Linked DNA regions of Homo sapiens: region 1 is linked to region 2. The links are contacts of gene promoters, found by promoter capture Hi-C in blood cells and fetal thymus (Javierre and others, 2016). All regions are on one chromosome and are shown on one strand. Each heading gives the region's core, a stretch centred on a gene start or on the middle of the fragment in contact. The rest is flanking DNA. Distances are from core to core; before and after follow the strand shown. Region 1 has its middle 7.0 kb from the start of PHYH. Region 2 holds the start of MCM10 (minichromosome maintenance 10 replication initiation factor).

Region 1 (5,962 bases), core at 2,244-4,743, 150 kb after region 2:
CATGTTAAAAACCCGTCTCTACTAAAAGTACCAAAAAAAAAAAAAAAAAAATTAGCTGGGCGTGGTGGCACATGCCTGTAATCCCAGCTACTCAGGAGGCCGGGGCAGGAGAATCGCTTGAACCCGGGAGGTGGAGGTTGCAGTGAGCCGAGATAGCGTCATTGCACTCCAGCTTGGGCAACACGAGTGAAACTCCATCTCAAACAAAGAAACAAACACAAAAACGAAAACCAGAAAACAAACAAACAAACAAAAACCCCAGAAAATTAGCTGAGCGTGGCACACCTGTAGTACCAGCCACTTGAGAGGCTGATGTGGGAGGATCGCTTGAGCCCAGGAGGTGGAGGTTGAAGTGAGCCAATATTGTGCCACTGCACTCCAGCCTGGGCGACAGAGCAAGACTGTGTTTCAAAAACAAAATAATAAATTAAATAAATAAATAAATAGTTGAAGCCAAGCATGGTGGCTCCCGCCTGTAATGTCAGCACTTTGGCAGGTCGAGGCAGAGGATTGCTTGAACCAAGAGGCTCGAGACCAGCCTGGGCAACATAGCAAGACTTCGCCTCTACAAAAAATTTTAAAAAGAAATAGCGGGGTGCAGTGGCGCACGTGTAGTCCTAGCTACTCCAGAGTCTGAGGCAGGAGGATTGCTTGAGCTCAGGGTTCTAGGCTGCAGTGAGCCATGATCCCCTACTGTACTCCAGCCTGAGTGATAGAGATCCTATCTCTAAAATTTATTTTAAAAAGTTTAAAAAGTTAGCTGGGTGTGGTGGCTTATGCCTGTAATCCAGCATTTTGGGAGGCTGAGGCGGGTGGATCACAAGGTCAGGAGTTTGAGACCAGCCTGGCCAAAATGGTGAAACCCTGTCTCTACTAAAAAAATAAAAAAATTAGCCAGGCATGGTGGTGGGCGCCTGTGGTCCCAGCTACTCAGGAGGCTGAGGCAGGAGAATCGCTTGAACCCGGGAGGCAAATGTTGCAGTGAGGTGAGACTGCACCACCGTATTCCAGCCTGGGCAACAGAGAGAGATTCCAAAAATAATAATAATAACAATAATAAGTTGTTCAAGCATTGTACACACTTAAGGAAATGTCATTATATGAATAAAAAATTATCTGCAATCAACTCCAGATTCAAAAACTCTGAGAATAGATATTACTGTAGGTGAGGTCATTTGGTTACAAGTTTTAAAGTTCGTTTAGAATATAGTGGCTCACACCTGTAATCCCAGCATTTTCAGAGGCTAAGGCAGAAGGATCACTTCAGGCCAGGAGTTCAAAACCAGCCTGGGCAACATTGCAAGACCCCATCTCTGCAAAAAGTTTAAAAATTAGCCAGGTATGTAGGCTGGGTGCGGTAGCTCACGCCTGTAATCCCAGCACTTTGGGAGGCCGAGGTGGGCGGATCACCTGAAGACAGGAGTCTGAAACCAGCCTGGCCAACACCCTGTCTCTACTAAAAATACAAAAACTAGCTGGGCATGGTGACGCATGCCTGCAGTCCTGGCTACTCAGGAGGCTGAGGCAGGAGAATCGCTTGAACCTGGGAAGGGGAAGTTGCAGTGAGCTGAGATCGCGCCACTGCACTCCAGCTTGGGCAACAGAGCGAGACTTCGTCTCAAAAAAAAATAGCCAGGTGTGGTGGTACGCACCTGTAGTCCCAGCTATTCAGGAGGCTGAAGCGAGAGGATCTCCTGCTTTTCTCGAAGCCCATTTCTGATGTCAGCTATAATGAAAACAAGTCTGAAGAATGGAGACATCTGTGGTGCAAAGAAATATCTCATCTTCCAACCTAAATTAGAAACTAAGAAATATAGGTGTGTAAATCTGGGAGAAGAGGAAAGAATAAAATTATCACTTATGGAATTATTTGGATTGAGAGGCCCGGGGTAAATGATCTACCATGAAATAAACACAAATCAACCAGCAAACCTCTACACAATTATTGGGTACCTAATTTGTACCGAGCTGTCTAAAAGAAACAGGGAAACATAGGAGGGGGTACAGCAATGATCCACGTAAGCAGAGGGAAAGGCAGTGCCATGCCCAGGCTCTAAACGACACAGGGCAGGGGACAAGGCAGCAGGTGCAGGAAGAGTGAGGGCTAAGGTATGTTAGGGTGAAGGAGGGCAGAAAGGAAGGAAATAGGGAAAGAAATCACACACACACACTCATACACACACACATATACACATACATGCACACACACACACATGCACGCATGCGCGCACACACCTTCCATTCTGTGTGTCAGTTCCCCATGGATATGAATGGAACACGTGTGTGTGCAGGGAGGCTGGAATCACAGAGGCTGCTTGACAGCAAAGGGAAGGTGGTGTTTTAATTCTAAATTGTCCAAAATGCAGAAAGAAAGAAACTTCTCATTGGAAACTGTTGTATTTCCATGGCCCTTTATGTATTCTTTATTTTTTTTTTCCGACAGAGTTTCGATCTTGTTGCCCAGGCTGGAGTGCAATGGCGCAATCTTGGCTCACCACAACCTCCGCCTCCCAGGTTCAAGTGATTCTCCTGCCTCAGCCTCCCAAGTAGCTGGGATTACAGGCATGCACCACCATGCCCGGCTAATTTTGTATTTTTAGTAGAGACGGGGTTTCTCCATGTTGATCAGGCTGGTCTCGATCTCCCGACCTCAGGTGATCTGCCCGCCTCGGCCTCCCAAAGTGCCGGGATTTATGTATACTTTCATGTTGGCGTTAATCATCTCATGTTGGCACTACAGAAAAGTTGATTCTGCCACAGTCTGCCTGGTGGGCGAGGCTTGCTTTGTGCACAAAGCTTGGCAGCCAGCGGTGAACTGACCTTCCCCACTGCTGGCCCCCACTTTGTATGGCTATGTGATCATATTAATTTGGCCAGCCATGGTGGCTCAGGCCTGTAATCCCAGCACTTTGGGAAGCCAAGAGTTTGAGACCATCTTGGGAAACACAGCAAGACCCCATCTCTATGAAAAAAAGCTAAAAAACTAGCTGGACATGATCGTGGTGTGCCTGTAGTCCCAGGTACTCAGGAGGCTGAGGCGGGAGGATCACTTGAGCCCGGGAATCAGAGGCTACAGTGTGCCATGATCACACCACTGCACTCCCACCTGGGCAACAGAGTGAGACCTTGTCTCAAAAAATTTTTTAAAAATCATATTAGTTTACATTATATATTACATATATATTTAAATGACCCAATGTTTTGTGATCAATAATAATACACATATATTGTAGAATATTTGAAAAAATATAGGGAAAAAACCCCTAAAATTCACCCATGTGGCTGCTCTTTGCAAGAAAACCGTTGTTAAAATTCATTCTATTTTTCCCATTCACATTTAGTTGAAATACATACATTTTATACAGGTATATACATATATATGTATATATTTTTTCAAAGTTAATATCACACTGAATACACTACATTGCATCTTTTTTTGTATAAAACACTTAATTTAGGCCAGGAGCAGTGGCTTACGCCTGTAATCTCAGCACTTTGGGAGGCCGAGGCGGGTGGATCACCTGAGGTCAGGAGTTCAAGACCAGCCTGACCAACGTGGAGAAACCCCATCTCTACTAAAAATACAAAATTAGCCGGGTGTGGTGGTGCATGCCTGTAATCCCAGCTACTTGGGAGGCTGAGGCAGGAGAATTGCTTGGACCCAGAAGGTGGAGGTTGCAGTGAGCCGAGATAGCGCCACTGCACTCCAGCCTGGGCAACAAGAGCAAAACTCCATCTCAAAAAAAAAAAAAAAAAAAGAAAGAAAGAAAGAAAGAAAAAAGAAAAAATACAGGGAAAAAAAACCTCTAAAATTAACTCATGTGGCTGCTCTTCACAAGAAAACCACTGTTACAATTCACTATATTTTTTCCCATTCACATTTAGTTGAAAAATATACATTTTATACAGGTACATACATACATACGTATATATTTTTTCAAAGTTGGTATCACACTGAATACACTGAATAGACTGCATTGCATCTGTTTTTGGTAGAAAACACTTAATTTATTGGTCTTTGTGGAGAATTAGGTGCATCACCAGTGTGTTACAGCTGAGCCATTAGTTTTGTAGCTTCATCAACATTAACTGGTTTGCTCTGATGACGCTGCTGAGGAATCAGCTCTTTCTGCAGAAGATCAAGAGAAAGGCCTTTTGAGAAATGTGGAAGTTCCTCTTGTACACTTCCAAAAGCTTTGTTTACTCTGCTGACTTTTTCATCATTCATAATGTGTATCTTCTTAAGATTAGCGGTAATTGGTTTTACTCTGTTTTTAGCCTTAAAGCTTTTTTGGCTAGCTATGCGAAATACGTTCCTGGACTTCTGCCCTCTAAATTTGTTCTTGGCCATTGTCAGGAATTCAATACTTGCGTGCAGCTTCTTAAACTCCAGGTGACGCCGCATCTTTTTTTCACCTTAGATTACAGCATAGACATTTTACCATGAATACATAGTCTCCAAAAACGTGACTTTTGAGGTAGAATTACAGATAATTTTTTTTTTTTTTTTGAAACAGAGTCTCAAAAAGAAACATTTAAAAAACTGATGGGTGTGGGCTGGTGGCTCAAGCCTGTAATCCCAGCACTTTGGGAGGCCGAGGTGGGTGGATCACTTGAAGTCAGGAGATCGAGACCATCCTGGCTAACACGGTGAAACCCCGTCTCTACTAAAAATACAAAAAATCAGCCGGGCGTGGTGGTGGGCGCCTGTAGTCCCAGCTACTCGGGAGGCTGAGGCAGGAGAATGGCGTGAACCCAGGAGGTGGAGCTTGCAGTGAGCCGAGATTGCGCCACTGCACTCCCCCCGGGTGACAGAGCGAGACTCCGTCTCAAAAAAAAAAAAAAAAAAAAACCAAGAAACAAAAAAATTAGCCGGACATATGGCGTGCACCTGTAGTCCCAGTTACTCTGGAGGCTGAGGCAGGAGAATGGCTTGAGCCTGGAAGGCAGACGTTGCAGTGAGCCGAGATTGCATCACTGCACTCCAGCCTGGGTGATAGAGTGAGACCCTGTCTCAAAACAAAACAAAAAAACAACACCAAAAAAGACTGCTGGGTGTGGTGGCTCACACCTGTAATCCCAACACTTTGGGAGGCCAGAGTGGGACGATCACTTGAGCCCAGGATTTCAAGACTAGCCTGGGAAACAAAGTGAGACCCCCATCTCTACAATAATTTTTTTTTAATTAGCCCAGGCGCGGTGGTGTGCCTGTAGTCATAGCCACTCAGGAAGCTGAGGTGGGAAGATCTCTTGAGCCTGGAAGGTCAAAGCTGCAGTAAGCCATGATCATGCCACTGCACTCCAGCCTGGGTGACAGAATGAGACTGTCTCAATAAAAACACACTTACTTACATACATAAATACATAAATTGGAATCATACTGCATATAGAGTTGTTTTTCAAAACTCATTATTACATTGTGAATATTTCCGTATTTTAAATGCCATAAGACCTGTTTTTTTTTTTTTTTTTTTTTTGAGACACAGTTTCATTCTGTCACCCAGGTTGGAGGGCAATGGCACTGTCTGAGCTCACTGCAACCTCTGCCTCTGGGGTTCAAGCGATTCTTGTGCCTCAGCCTCCTGAGTAGCTGGGATTACAGGTGTGCGCCACTACGCCTGGCTAATTTTTTTATTATTAGTAGAGACGGAGTTTTGCCATGTTGGCCAGGCTGGTCTCGAACTCCTGACCTCAGGTGATCCGCCCGCCTCAGCATCCCAAAGTGCTGGTATTACAGTTGTGAGTCACTGTGCCCAGCCTAAGACCTGATTTTTGATGACTTCATAGCATTCTAGCCTGTGGATTTTCCTATATTCATTGAACCAATGTCCTATTACTATATGTAAGTTTATGTTTTCTTTTCCTTTCTTTCTTTTTTGCTTACAATTGTAAATAATTTGATGAATGTGCTGATTTTCAGTGTTGGGTAGTCCCATGGATATTTCCTTAGGATAAATTATTG
Region 2 (5,988 bases), core at 2,252-4,751:
ATAAAAGTCTGTTGGGCCTGTGAATTTCCCCCTACCTTCGCGGAACATGGATGAGGATAATGAGATGCATTAGCACCCATTTTCTTCAGTCATTCAGGCATTCCGTCTGCGGGTTCTTCAGAGTATAATCCTAGAGGCCATTAGGAACCTTCAACCCTGGATCCAGCAGCCTCTTTCCATCTATTTCTATGAGAACAGGGCCATTAGACCTTACTTTAGTGCATACTATTGAAGTATGAAAGGCTGTGGGCAGCCAGACACACGGACAGTGCATTCTGTAAGAACCACACAGCAAGCATCCTCAAGTGTTTACTATACAGTCTGCCCTTCGTATTCCGTAGGTTCCTCATCCACAGTTCAATCGACCTGGAGGCTCCTCCCGCCGCCGCTGCTGCTGCTGCCGCAGGGACCTCGGCCGTCGCCCCCGCCGCCTCCGCCACCAGCACCGCGGCAGGCACCGGCGCCAGCACACCGCCGCCATCCTCCTCCCACCGCCGCCGCCGCCCTCTCCTCTCCTGTCAGTGGCTCAGGCTCCGGGACTGCTCCAGTTTTCCCTCGCCGCCATTTTGATTCCTAGAGGGAGCAGGAAGGGCTCGGCTTGGACTTTTTGTGTTTTTTTTTGTTTTTTGTTTTTTTGAGGCGGAGTTTTGCTCTTGTTGCCTAGGCTGGAGTGCAGTGGCCGATCTCGGCCCACTGCAACCTCCGTCTTCCGGGTTCAAGCGATTCTACTGCCTCAGCCTCCCGCGTAGCTGGGATTACAAGCATGCGCCAATACTTCCGGTTCATTTTTGCATTTTTTTTAGTAGAGATGAGGTTTCACCATGTTGGCCAGACTGGTCTCGAACTCCTGACCTCAGGTGATCTGCCAGCTTCGGCCTCCCAAAGTCCTGGGATTACAGACATGAGCCACCGTGCCCGGCCCACTTTTAATACATTAAAGGGGTCTGTGATAAACATCCTCCTACCGCCCAAAAAAGGTTAAGGACCACTGCAATATGGGCTGTTTGCTTTAGATTTCATTTTAGATAGATGTTGATAACTGTCAGAGCTGTTCTTTTTTGGCCTTCGTTTGTATTCTAAGGAGAGTCCAGGCCTCTCCTTAGAACCCCAGATCTGGAGATCAAGCTGGCTACCGTGCCTTTCTTAATCAGCATCTCTCATACATCTCATTCTGAAATAGAAAACTAAATCTATCTTCTCCCCTAAACCTGTTCCGTTCTTCCTATGTCTCCTACTTCAGTGCACAACCTCAAAAACGACCCTATTGTATAAATCAGAAACCTAACAGTCATCCTAAACCTGTCTCCCCATCCCCTCTCTGCTTCCTTCTCGCTAATATCTCCACATTCAATGGATGTTTTAAAAATATAAACTCAAGATTTTATTGTCTTCATAATAAAAGAAAACATGACACTTAGAACTGGATCACTTGGCCGTTTCTCTTCTTACCTCCTCCCAGTTCAAAATGCTAGCATATTTTAATAGCCAGCACTCTCTTAGAGCTGCAGCTGGGCTCAACGCACTCAAGCCTTGGCACAATTTTCTGTAGTTTTAGCCCTTTCCTGGAAAATCGGCTTAATTTGCCCACGATAGCCACTCTGCTTCCTGTCATAACGCCGCTTTCCCTGGGCATACAGAGAATCCTTCTCCTTCGTGTACAGTGTCACTTTGTGGGGTTGGTGCTTGCCACACTTCTTATAGAAAGTCTGGCGGGTTTTAGGAAACTTCGTAATGTTTGTGTGAGCGCTATCGGCACGGAAAAGCCACATTCAATGGATTTTAAAAAATCTATTTGCCTAATTGTTTCTCAAAATCACCTCCACTTCTTTTCTCAAAGTCACCACTATACTAATTCCAATAAAAAGTGCTTGATTCTTCACTTAAGGAAGGTTTGCGGGCTTAGGTTGGTTCTGTTTCTGACTCCTTGCCCGGAACTGGATGCAAAGAGGACCTGGAAAGTGAAGGTGAAGAAAAGAACTTCAGAGTACTGATCAGAATTAGTCAAGGAATTTCTGCATAATGGCTAAGAATAAATCTATGACGAATCTTTTTTTTTTAATAACTAGATGTAGTGATGCATTTATTTATTTATTTATTTATTTATTTATTTATTTATTTAGACAGAGTCTGGCTCTGTCGCCAGGCTGGAGTGCAGTGGCGAGATCTCGGCTCATCACTGCAATCGCCACCTCCCAGGTTCAAGCGATTCTCCGCCTCAGCCTCCCAAGTAGCTGGGATTACAGACGCGCACCACTACGCCCAGCTAATTTTTGTGTTGTGTGTGTTTTTAGTAGAGATGGGGTTTCACCATGTTGGCCAGGCTGGTCTCGAACTCCTAACCTCGTGATCCACCCACCTCGGCCTCCCAAAGTGCTGGGATTACAGGGGTGAGCCACCGTGCCCGGCCTTAGTGCCGTATGTTTAAAAGTACGCATTTAAACATACTTTTTCAATTTGATTACTAGAGTTCCTCCATTACTATGAATTTTTAACACTAGCAGCTCTCAGAAATGGTTGTATTCCTATTCCTGAGCCAATATAGGTTTAAGTAATAGGGCTGAGCTCATAAATGGAGCAGTAATATTCCATTAGGACACAGAAAAAAGTCAACGTAGATGGCATCAGGACTGTTTATCTTCAGTCTTCCTAAAGTCGATTTTAATTGTTCTGAAAATGAAAGTACGTAGTGGATAGAGATAGGATCTTATACCAAAGGGATTATTAGTGGGGGAACTGCAGTGCCTGAACAGTGTCTGCAAGGAGGAAAAGGGGGGAAAGACTTAAAGTGGCCATTTGGTCCATCAAAGTCTCTTCTGCTATCAATCCCTTGAAATTATGTAAAAGCTAAATGTTATTCTGCATTTAGAAACTATGTTCTTAGTATTATGTACAAACACTATTTTTTAGAATGTAAATACATAAAGAGGCCTGAATTTTACTGAAAAAAAAATCTGTGAAAGATATGGTCTGCTGATAAGTTCTCTTCAGCCCTGACGCCCCTTAGAAGTCCCAAAATCTATGGAACAGGAATTACTCGGGAAATGGTGGTTTCAGTGTAAAAGATGTCATCTACCCTTTCCCTCACTGCACAGATGGTGAAGGGGAAACTCAGAGAGATAAGTCACTTCCCCAAGGTCAGACAGGGTAAAAGTGGACCGGATCTGTTTGGTCCTGAGCCCAAACATTTCGAATGGACATAAGGCTGACAAAGGAACAGTCGGTCCCAGAGCGTCAGGAGTTGAGGTGGGATGGGACCGCAGGGAAAATACTGGGTGGGATGACTTAAACTTCCCGGCACCAGGGGGCGCCAGACACTCTATTTTACCTAAAGGAGACTGGCTTCTACCGACAGGAAGGTCCCTTGCCCCCAACAAAGAGGGCGTCCAATGACGTAAACCAATCCGATTGCTCTGTGCCAGGGCCGGGATTCGCTGGCGTAGCCAGTCAGTGCTGCCCCACAGCCGCGTGCGTCTGACGTCAAGGCAGGGGCGGGATCCGGTTGGAATTTTGGCGGGTTCAGCTGTGAACGAAGAAGGCGTCCCGGCATCGGGTGAGGAGCGCGGGCCCCGGGCGTGCGTGTGACCCTCGGGCGGCGGGGCCGGGGCCGCCTCGCACGTCTCTGCGCGGGTTGCAAGGGGTCCGAGGCTAGAGGCGCGGGGTCCCGGGAGCTCGGGTGGGCGCGATCTGGATTTGGCGGCAGCTTGGGACCGCTCGGAGCTGGCATGGCCGGGCCGGGGGCTGGGAGTTGCTGGCCGTCTACTAAGGAATCGGGTTCTTCCTTTTAAACGCAGCCTTTTAAGTGCTTGCCAAGTGCCTGCCGCCTGGGCTTTCTTTTATTCATTCATTCATTCATTCATTCATTGGTTTCTCGTATTCATGATTTGCCAATGATTATTGAATGCGGACGGTGTGCATGGCTCGGATCACATTTCCGCTGCCTTCACAGCGCTTACAGTTTAAAGGCACGAGCAGGTAGTAAACAAATGCACGACAGTGGACGACTCAGGGTGGTCCAGAAAGTCTCAGAAAGATGAGTAAGTGGAGACCGAAGGGCGAGAAGGACCTGGGGGGAGCTTTCTTCGACAGAGCCTGAGACCTCAAAGCAGCTTAGTGTGTTCCAGAAGGTGGAAGCGGGCTGGCCCGGCTGGAGCATCGTTATGGGTGTCGGGGTGGGTAGAATTGGACGTGGTGGATTGTGGAAAATGTGAGGGAGTAGAAAGCTTGGAAAGAGAGAGAGAATATGAATCATTGCCTCGCAGGCTTTGTAGATTTTTTCTAAGGGCAATGGAAAATCATTAAAGAATTTCAATGAAGGGACCCCCATGATCTGATTTATGTTCCTAAAGGTTACTAAGGAAAGGGAAGATTACCGTGGCTGTCGTATGCAGAACAGATTGCACGGGGACAAAGAGACCAACATAGAAAGCTAACACAGTCATTGGGTTAAAGGTTGACGGTGGCTTGGCCTAGGGTTCTGGCAGTGAAGTTGGAGAGAAGTGGCAGATTTGAGCAGTGTTTTGGAGATGGGACCACAGTACTTGTCAGTGGCCGTGGATTTGAGGGCGAGGGAGGGTGCACAGTTTCATTTTGGGGGAAGGCAAGGCCGGTTACAGACTTGAACGAGACAGTTTGCTCCTAACGCTCAGGAAGCTTACTGTCCAATAGGTTCCCCAGTAGATAGCACAGTGTGTGGCACATGAGGGATCCGTGGAAATGTTGGTTGAATGAATTTTTAAAAAGCGGCCAGGCGCGGTGGCTCACGCCTGTAATCCCAGCGCTTTGGGAGGCCAAGGCGGACGGATCACCAGGTCAGGAGATCGAGACCATCCTGGCTAATACGGTGAAACCCCATCTCTACTAAAAATACAAAAAATTAGCCGGGCGTGGTGGCGGGCGCCTGTAGTCCCAGCTACTCGGGAGGCTGAGGCAGGAGAATGGCGTGAACCCGGGAGGCGGAGCTTGCAGTGAGCCAAGATCGCCCCATTGCACTCCAGCCTGGGTGACAGAGACTCCGTCTCAAAAAAAAAAAAAAGCACCTTTGGGAGTCCAAGGCTGATGGATCACTTGACATCAGGAGTTCAAGACCAGCCTGGGCAACATGGCGAAACCCTGTCTCTACAAAAAACACAAAAATTAGCCGGGTGTGGTAGTGCACGTTTGTAATCCCAGCTACTTGGGAGGCTGGGGCAGGAGAATCACTGGAGCCTGGGAGGCGGAGGTTGTAGTGAGCCAATAGCACCACTGCACTCCAGCCCCAGCGACAGAGCGAGATCCTGTCTAAAAAAAGAAAAGAAAGTACCATAATCACTGTAATTAGTTCCTTGACATTGAACTTGCCAAAGAGCACATGTAAGTTAAATAAGAGCCTAGAAAAATGTATACTTTCTTACTTGCAGTTTAAAAAATAACCTTAAATGAAAAGAGAAGTGCACAAAGTGATACAACTTTGTCTTAATTAGCTACGCTGTTTCTCTGTGCTTTGCTGACTAGTATTGAATCAAAATCCTGATTGTCACTAAGGCTCCACCTAAGTAGAATCATACAGTAAGCTGTCGTGGATAACGCAGATGTCAGGTGTATTACAGTGAATAAAATGAAAGAATAGCCTAATGTAGATCGACCCCAATAATTTGTGTGTGTGTGTGTGTAATTTTTAAAAAAGACAAGGTCTTGCTATGTGACCAGGCTGGTCTCAAACTTCTGGCCTCAAGTGATGCGCCCACCTTAGCTTCCCAAAGTGCTGGTATTACAGGCGTTGAGCCACTGTACCTAGCCAACCCCAATAGTTCTTCCTCATAATTTATCTCATCCACGTAATCTAGTGTGATTTACAAACTGCTCTGCAGCTCAATAACTTTCTGTAACCTTAAACACAAGTAAAAGTGAGCTGCTACATCCAAGGAAGGAGATGGCATTGGCGGTGTGGAGAGAGGAGGTGAGAAATGGTCAGATTCTGGATGAATTCTGAGGTTAGAGCCCATAGGAGTG

What was found. Contacts are between HindIII fragments. The CHiCAGO score rates a contact against its expected background, and 5 or more counts as called.
Region 1: a fragment that was not itself captured here is called in contact with the fragment with the promoter of MCM10 in region 2 in 4 of 17 cell types (naive CD8 T cells, naive CD4 T cells, total CD8 T cells and 1 more); the score reaches 6.4 in naive CD8 T cells.

The regions. Positions count from the first base shown.
Region 1 is chr10:13,304,097-13,310,058 of GRCh38, forward strand. It overlaps the pseudogene RBISP1. Among named protein-coding and RNA genes, the nearest start is that of PHYH, 7.0 kb to the left of the region's middle. The HindIII fragment of the contact is 1,398 bases long and covers 2,795-4,192 here.
Region 2 is chr10:13,158,057-13,164,044 of GRCh38, forward strand. MCM10 (minichromosome maintenance 10 replication initiation factor) reads left to right here and starts at 3,502. Exons shown (of 20, transcript NM_018518.5): 1 at 3,502-3,550. It also overlaps the pseudogene BTBD7P1 and the pseudogene RPL36AP36. RefSeq lists silencers at 3,251-3,564, 3,587-3,766. The HindIII fragment of the contact is 4,789 bases long and covers 1-4,218 here.